Regions from separate parts of the Homo sapiens genome. Here region 1 is linked to region 2. The links are contacts of gene promoters, found by promoter capture Hi-C in human tissues and cell types (Jung and others, 2019). All regions are on one chromosome and are shown on one strand. The core of a region is centred on a gene start or on the middle of the fragment in contact, and the rest is flanking DNA. Distances in the headings are between cores, read along the strand shown.

The links. Contacts are between HindIII fragments. The study calls those that stand out against the background at their distance.
Region 1: a contact is called between a fragment that was not itself captured here and the fragment with the promoter of MAPKAPK2 in region 2, in 1 of the 25 tissues and cell types used here (adrenal gland).

Annotation. Positions count from the first base shown.
Region 1 is chr1:207,043,626-207,047,314 of GRCh38, forward strand. It overlaps YOD1 (YOD1 deubiquitinase), which reads right to left. Exons shown (of 2, transcript NM_018566.4): 2 at 224-3,689. It also overlaps a transcript of PFKFB2 not described here. Among named protein-coding and RNA genes, the nearest start is that of YOD1, 5.7 kb to the right of the region's middle. The HindIII fragment of the contact is 4,320 bases long and covers 1-3,689 here.
Region 2 is chr1:206,682,949-206,686,639 of GRCh38, forward strand. It overlaps MAPKAPK2 (MAPK activated protein kinase 2), which reads left to right and starts at 1,957. Exons shown (of 10, transcript NM_032960.4): 1 at 1,957-2,560. The coding sequence starts at 2,282. LOC124904495 (a long non-coding RNA gene) reads right to left here and starts at 1,858. Exons shown (of 3, transcript XR_007066833.1): 1 at 793-1,858; 2 at 403-595; 3 at 1-162. LOC124904496 (a long non-coding RNA gene) reads left to right here. Exons shown (of 3, transcript XR_007066834.1): 3 at 1-40. RefSeq lists silencers at 1,933-2,112, 2,573-2,622, 2,633-2,722, 3,133-3,222. The HindIII fragment of the contact is 19,561 bases long and covers 1-3,691 here.

The DNA of each region.
Region 1 (3,689 bases), core at 566-3,065, 360 kb after region 2:
GGATTTAGAAAAAAATTTAGTCAATGAATGGGAATTTCAACCTTTCGTTAAGGAGAAATACCTTAGTTTCTCCTGTCTCATTCATTGAGTCCGCCTAAAGGGTGATATTTGGCAGATTTTGGTACCTTAGTTAAAGATTCGGTAAGCTTTTGATAATATGTATATTGAGTAAAATAGCCGTTCAGTGGCCATATCTGCCCTGATCCCAAAATATACTCAAACAACGTTTTCACTTCATTTATTCCTTTGAAACAAGTCACTTAATACAGCATTTAGATATTTAAAGTCATACACCTCATAAATAAAATCAATGCATCTTAATGACAATGGCAAAATCACATAAGAGTTGTAGAAAATGAAGTTAGACATCTTCCAGGTAGCAGCAGTGTATTACTTCAAAAAATGCTGGCAAATAGGCAAAACATTTTTAAAACAAGAAAACACTGTCCATCTGCATTAAGAAAAAATATTTTCTTATGCTGTTTTGCCCATCCCTACTTTTTCAAGTCATATTCTAAAGCTCTAATTTGACGGTCTTTACTTGTGGTTTTCTTTTTGCGTTAGGAACCTCTGTCTCTACTGCATTAATACAGAAACTATAGGAATATTGTTGTTCTCTAACCCTTTTCACAAACTATTCATATTCATTCTGTATTTAGGCTGAATTCAAATTTTTTTCAAGGAAAAATACTATTCTGCTAAGTACATATTTCCTGTAAACAGCTGGAGTCCTGAATGGCACCAATGTGACTGGAAAACTGACAAAAATTAGGTCCCCTGGTCCTTTAAGTAACTTACGGGCTAATTACATAGCCTATACCAGTTTATAAAGTAGACTCATGTAATCATATTAGAAATTCTGAGCCTAAGATGATCCTTTCTGTTTACCTACAACTTAATCAAATTATATCTTCACCATTCCTAAACTCCTATATGTTGGTTAGTACTTTTAAAAACATATGTATAAAAGGGCATCATGGCAAAATGCTTATAATTCATGGTTTCATACTTTAATGATAAGCTTTTTCACCTATGGCCATGCTACATTCTATGACAAGAAATGGGGAAGAAGGGTTGAGTTGACACAAAGGCATTGCTTTAAAAATGTTTGGAAAAGGGTAATTCATGACTAGGAATGCATCTATTTGACAATCTCTTCTTTATCAGTGGTACTTTGTCTTCTTGGCCCTTTTCTCCCTTCACTCTACCATGAGGGGGTTACCAACCTCCTTTAAATGTGTATGAATCAAGACCTAAATCAGCACCCTACAATTCAACATCAATAATAATTTTAAGTCAAACATTCAAAGCACTGTAAGCAAAATGCTAGATAATTTTGAGAAAAATAAACACTCTCCCACAACCAGGGACACTTAATATTCTTTTTATGTGGAATGAAATGTGCTGAAATACTGTAACATAAGAAAACAGCTTTAGTTTATAAACTAGCTTATTCAAATCAAGTGTTTCACTTTGGACTTAAAATGATGCCACTTGTATATGACACGTTTAAGGCCTCTGACTCAAAAATCAGCTTCCTTATAAGTCTGCTTGGAAACAAGTTTTAAGGATCGAATCTTTTAGAAATTATCAGTCATCTCTGCACTACAAGGACAAATTTGAATACTGCATTGTATAATAATACAAGATATTCACATAATAATAAGTAACATTTTTAATGCTAGGGCACAGACCATGCTCCTAATAGTTACTGAAATTGAGTTCTACTGTTATCAAAACACCAGAATGTTGTGCCAATAGATACACTCTACACTGATGGCAATCTTTGATTAAGAAGAGCTGATGGTTAGTAGCTCAAGAATTGTACTTTAATGTCCTTAATTAGATCCCTAGAGGGCCAACATGTAAACTTTTATTCCATATATATTTTTTAAAGTGCTGCAAACAAATGTGTCTCCACACATGAAAGAACATAATTCTTAGTATGTTTAGGAAGGCCACCTGATTTGTCAAAAAAAAAAAAAAATCACTCTTGCTTAATCTTGCATACTTCCCATTCCATTTTTTTTCCCAAAAAGATGTAAGAAAACTATGTTTAGCTTAGGGCAACTTGCAACACCCACGTTTTAATCCCTCCACAGAAGGAATAAACTAGAGAAGCAAGTTAGGCATGGGCATTTAGGGACACAGACAAATTAGATAGATAACATAATGTTAGTTAATTCCTCATTATTATTTTGCTGGGACTTCATGGAATAATCAAGCGGCATGACTACATTAGTTGTTAAAAACAGGGTCAAACTGACCAGCAGTCAAGCGTCAAGGGTACCACTTGACTATGCTAATTTCATGGGAAACAATGAAGAAATCAACCATGAACCATTAGCAAAAGATGGAACACACTAATGTCTTCACTTGGCTAACACATCACAAAATTTCCAGGTATGTTAAATTTTAGCTTCTGAAATCACTTTATTCAGGAGTGAATCTTCATAGTACTACACCTGACCTTTAATCCAAAGAAAAGTAAGAGAAAGGAAGAAGGGTGGGGTGGGAAAGTGAGGTCTTTATTCACTTTGCCACTAATATAAACTGTCATTTTAATTTTTAAAAAAATTCCTCTATGGCAGGCAAAAACTCAATGAATAGGAAAGATTTCATTCTGCTCTAGTACAAAACTTAAGACATTTAATCCTCCTGAAAGTTGTAAGTCCATAGATTTTCAAAATTCCCAAGATGAGAATTTACTCCCTTTAATAACTAATTCCAAGAGTTTAATAAGCACAGTAAAAAATGAAAAAACAAACAAACAAAAAGCAAACCCCTGTAAATTCTGTGAGGCTTAAAAGCTTGAGTTTAGAATGAGCAAAGGTTTAGGTTTTTAATCCTCAATAATTAAATCAGATGGTCCACAAATAAAGCTTCACCTTGAATTTTCCAGGATCAGAACACTAAAGTACTAGTGCTAAATTTCAGCAGACTAAAGAGTCATTTTTGAAAGGAATTTGACAGAGTATCAGTGTCCAACCGGTAAATGGACAACCTAGATAACAGATAAAATACAATGAAATAAGATCCCCTGAATAAATACTTGACACTTAATATGTAAACAAAGCCCTTACAATGAAGGGGTTTAATTCTGTAAAATATCAGTGTTCTATTCCTTTCCATTTGTTAAATTTACCCACTGTAGAAAATATATACTGAATATAAAGTGACAGAAACTTATGTTGGAACATATCAAAACATATGACAGAAACATATCAAAACATGCCTGGCACAGTATAAATTACTCAATAAATATTTGTTGCACGAATAAACTTCTAGATCTAAAGCTGTAGTAAGCAAATGTCAACTCTGTGTCCTGAAGTAGCAAAGAAAGGAAGGCAAGCTTTCTGAGTAATGATGCATAAAGCTCAATTTGATAATTGTTATCTAGTGGTATATTCTTAATTTACAGTTTTAAATTTAGTATTTTCTGGGAGAAGTAAAAAAGATACAAAACCAAAACCATCCAGATCAGATGAGAGTCAGGTGTGGAGAGATTTTCAATCCCATTAATTTGAACACATTATGATTGCCAAACATTAAGTATCATAAGCTCATCAGTGCTATTTTTAAGGCTCAGTAAAATAGAAAACTAAACACTTTTAAGTTATGCTGACCATAACAGCTTATATTGTCTAAAATAACTATGCACACAAAAGGTACTCAAGAAATGTCATCTG
Region 2 (3,691 bases), core at 707-3,206:
GGAGGACAGTCTTGGCTTCAGCTCATTTGTCTCTAGATCCTGTCATCTTACCACTGTGCCTTGCTGCCTCTGAAAAGGCAGAAGGAAGTTATTCTCTTTCTAGCTTTGTGGAGAAAAGCAGGTGATACCTCAACACCAAGCCATAGGGAGCTTCCAGTGACTCTGCAAAGAAAAAAAAGACCAACTCAGACTCCAGAGCAGCCCCACCAGAGCCTGAGCAGTTGGAGCCTTCCACCTTCCCACCCCTGCGTTCCTCTTGTCCTTGGGCATCTCCTGTGTGTGCTTCGGGGAGGTGATAGCAGTGCTATAGAAGTAGTGGAGTGAAGATGTTTTCCTATCCCCGTGGCCTTAGATAGTGTCTTTGTCTTTGAAGAGTCAGGGGCATCTGGGGAGCTGTCTAACCGTATCTATCCTGTAGACTCGGGAGGAAGCTGCTGGCTGCTGTAGACAGAAGAGAATCCCTGTGCTTCGGGCTCCTAGGAAGGTGTCTGCCATCCTCTCTGTGCCACTGTTATCTGTCTTCTTCCCCATCAGATAACACCATCCACCGCTGCAGGGCTGAGCACGGCACCTTGTACATGGAGCTAAGCAGATGCTGCTTGAGAAGAGCATATGTTTGTGTCGGGGGAAACATGTCTCTCCTTGGTCCACAGAGCCCTACCTGCCCCAGGAAAGGACAGTGTTGGGAGGGTAACTCCCACCCCTCACTCCTCCCCCTCATTCCTGCCTCCACAAGCATCTTCTGGGAAAGGTGAATGAGGGAAGAGACATTTGCACTTGTCCCTTACCTACCTAAGTTCTATCCCCAGTGGCCACTTCTGGGGGTGTTGTCTTCTCTCTGGAGTTTTGGGGGACCTATTAGGGGGCATGTGTGGCCATAGGTCAAGCCTCATTCTCTAACTGGCCTTACCAAGACTTAAGCTGAGGTTTTGTGTTCACCTGTCTGGGTTGCTTGCCATTTCTCAAATGTTCTGCCAGTCAGAGGTGGGAGGAGGTCGGCAGGAATGTACTTGGTCATCTCGAACCCCATCAGAATGTGTGTGGAGGCCTCCTGGCAGCTTCTATGCAGGGTCCAGCTAGATCCCTGGGCTTTTCCTGAGATACACGGGGCTAACCCACTTCTTACGGATTAATTTTTCCACATCGGAAATCAGAAGCCATTCCCCAGGGCCTCCCCTTCAGTTTCATTATCTCCTTTGACTCTGCCCACAACCTTTGAAAAGGTCTCGCTGTTCTTCCCACGGAGAGAGAGGTGCAAGGCTTGCTCAGCCTCACACAGCCAATCCGTGGCAAAGGATGGCGGGAATTCAGGTGGCCCCAATCTCAACCCATCCTCTTCCCACCCTGTATCCTTTTTAGTTTATTTACAGGAAAACATGTTCAAAGGTATAATTACTAAAGTGCTCCTGGTTACACAATAATACGTCTTTACTGAAAAACAATAAATTAATGAGAAAAGAGATGCAAAAAACCTCAGAGGAAAATGTTGAAGTTAGGGAAATATTTAATACGCCCGCCTTTGGCTCACACCTTTTCCTGGGATGAATGACCCCTGTGATTCCAGCTCCCCCCCACCCCCACGAGGTCTCATCTAGCTGGATACCTACAAGCCATCCCTGTCCTTGGAAATACACCCCTCTCCCAATTCGCTGCCGCTAAGAAGCCCAGACAATTGGAGAGGAGTGGATTTTCCATCTGAATTATGCAGCTCCTTTGACACGCCTCCCCTCTCCCTTTGCATAGCCTTGGTTAAGAACTAGCATTTCTTCGTCCCCTCTCCCTGTCCCCTCTCACTGTCCGCGAGGCAGCAGCCCCCAGCCTACTCCGCGATCCTCCCAGCTCCCGGCACCGCGCGTCCTCCCCTTTAAGGCCCGCCCCTCCCCCCACGCCACGCCTCCCCAGGCCCCGCCCCCCGCCCCTCCCCTTTAAGGACCGGCCCCGGACGCAGACGAGGCTGTGACGCGGCCGCCGGCCCGGGGCTGGGTACATTGTCGCGCGGCCGCTTCCCCCCGGCCGGGCCCCCGCCGCCCCGCGGTCCCCAGAGCGCCAGGCCCCCGGGGGGAGGGAGGGAGGGCGCCGGGCCGGTGGGAGCCAGCGGCGCGCGGTGGGACCCACGGAGCCCCGCGACCCGCCGAGCCTGGAGCCGGGCCGGGTCGGGGAAGCCGGCTCCAGCCCGGAGCGAACTTCGCAGCCCGTCGGGGGGCGGCGGGGAGGGGGCCCGGAGCCGGAGGAGGGGGCGGCCGCGGGCACCCCCGCCTGTGCCCCGGCGTCCCCGGGCACCATGCTGTCCAACTCCCAGGGCCAGAGCCCGCCGGTGCCGTTCCCCGCCCCGGCCCCGCCGCCGCAGCCCCCCACCCCTGCCCTGCCGCACCCCCCGGCGCAGCCGCCGCCGCCGCCCCCGCAGCAGTTCCCGCAGTTCCACGTCAAGTCCGGCCTGCAGATCAAGAAGAACGCCATCATCGATGACTACAAGGTCACCAGCCAGGTCCTGGGGCTGGGCATCAACGGCAAAGTTTTGCAGATCTTCAACAAGAGGACCCAGGAGAAATTCGCCCTCAAAGTAGGTCTGGGGCCCGGGGAGGGGAGGCGGGGCCGGTCCCGGGCCCTGGAGCTCCACGGCGTCGGGTGCCCGTCCCGGCCTGGGTCGCGGCGCGGGGCGGAGGGGTGGCCGCGGCGGGGCGGGGCGGGGCGGCCGGGCCGGCGGTGCCGAGTGCGGCGCGGGCGGCGGGTCCCAGCGCCCTCGCCTCCCTGACCGCTTCCGGCCGCTCCCGGGCGGGAGCCCTGGGACCCGCTCCTGGGGACTCAGGGGACCCTGCCATTTTGGGGTTTGAGCGGGATCCAGCCGAGTCAGAACGGTTGGCTTCGGGACTTCTGCTAATTTCACTCCATCTCAAGGAAGTGATTTTGGGGTTGGTGGTTCCCCGTCCTCTCCTCCCTCCTTTTTCTCTCTCTGCGGGCACAAAAGGCCCATTACTCATTGAGCCGGTTGGTCGGTTGGTTTGGAGAAGTCGGATCGCAGAGGTTTATTTAGCCTCGCTCCTTATTTGGGAGCCGGAATGTGTGATTTCACTTCCCCGAGCCTCGCGAGGGCAGCCGGGCCGCCTTGGGGCGCGCCGGGCAGGAGGTGTGCGGCGGGAGGGTCCTGGGTGTCCCCCGGCTGCGGGGGCGGGATTATTTGGATCCCGGAGCTGGCCCCCTCAGCTGGCCCCCTCCCACGCCCGCGCGGGGCGGCTCCGGGGAGAGGCCGGCGGTGTCCGCGGCCCGGCTGATCATTGTGAACAGAGTCTGTAACCCGCGGCCGGGCCCGTGCTGATTCCGCCTCCTAGAGAGGGCCACTTGCTGTCCTGGACTCGCGCCGTGATGGGCAGTCTGAGGAAACATTATCCTTGAGCCGGGGGAGCCCATCCCTTTTCTTTCTTTAAGGGGTGTGGTGGTGGGGAGAATAAGGATTCAAGTGAGAATATCGACTTCAGAAGTTAAACACAATGGACTGGGAGGTCTCATGAGATGGGTGGGTCCGCAGTGAAGTGTGAGCCGGTCTTGCAGGGTCACCAACAAGGTTTTCCTCTCACAGGGGTTTCAGGTCAAACCAATCTCTAAAGGTGACGCCTCAGGTCTGTTTCCCCTGGGGTGTCTCAATGATTGGAGGAGGAGAAAAATACTTCCTGTGTTATATTTTTCTCTTCCCCTT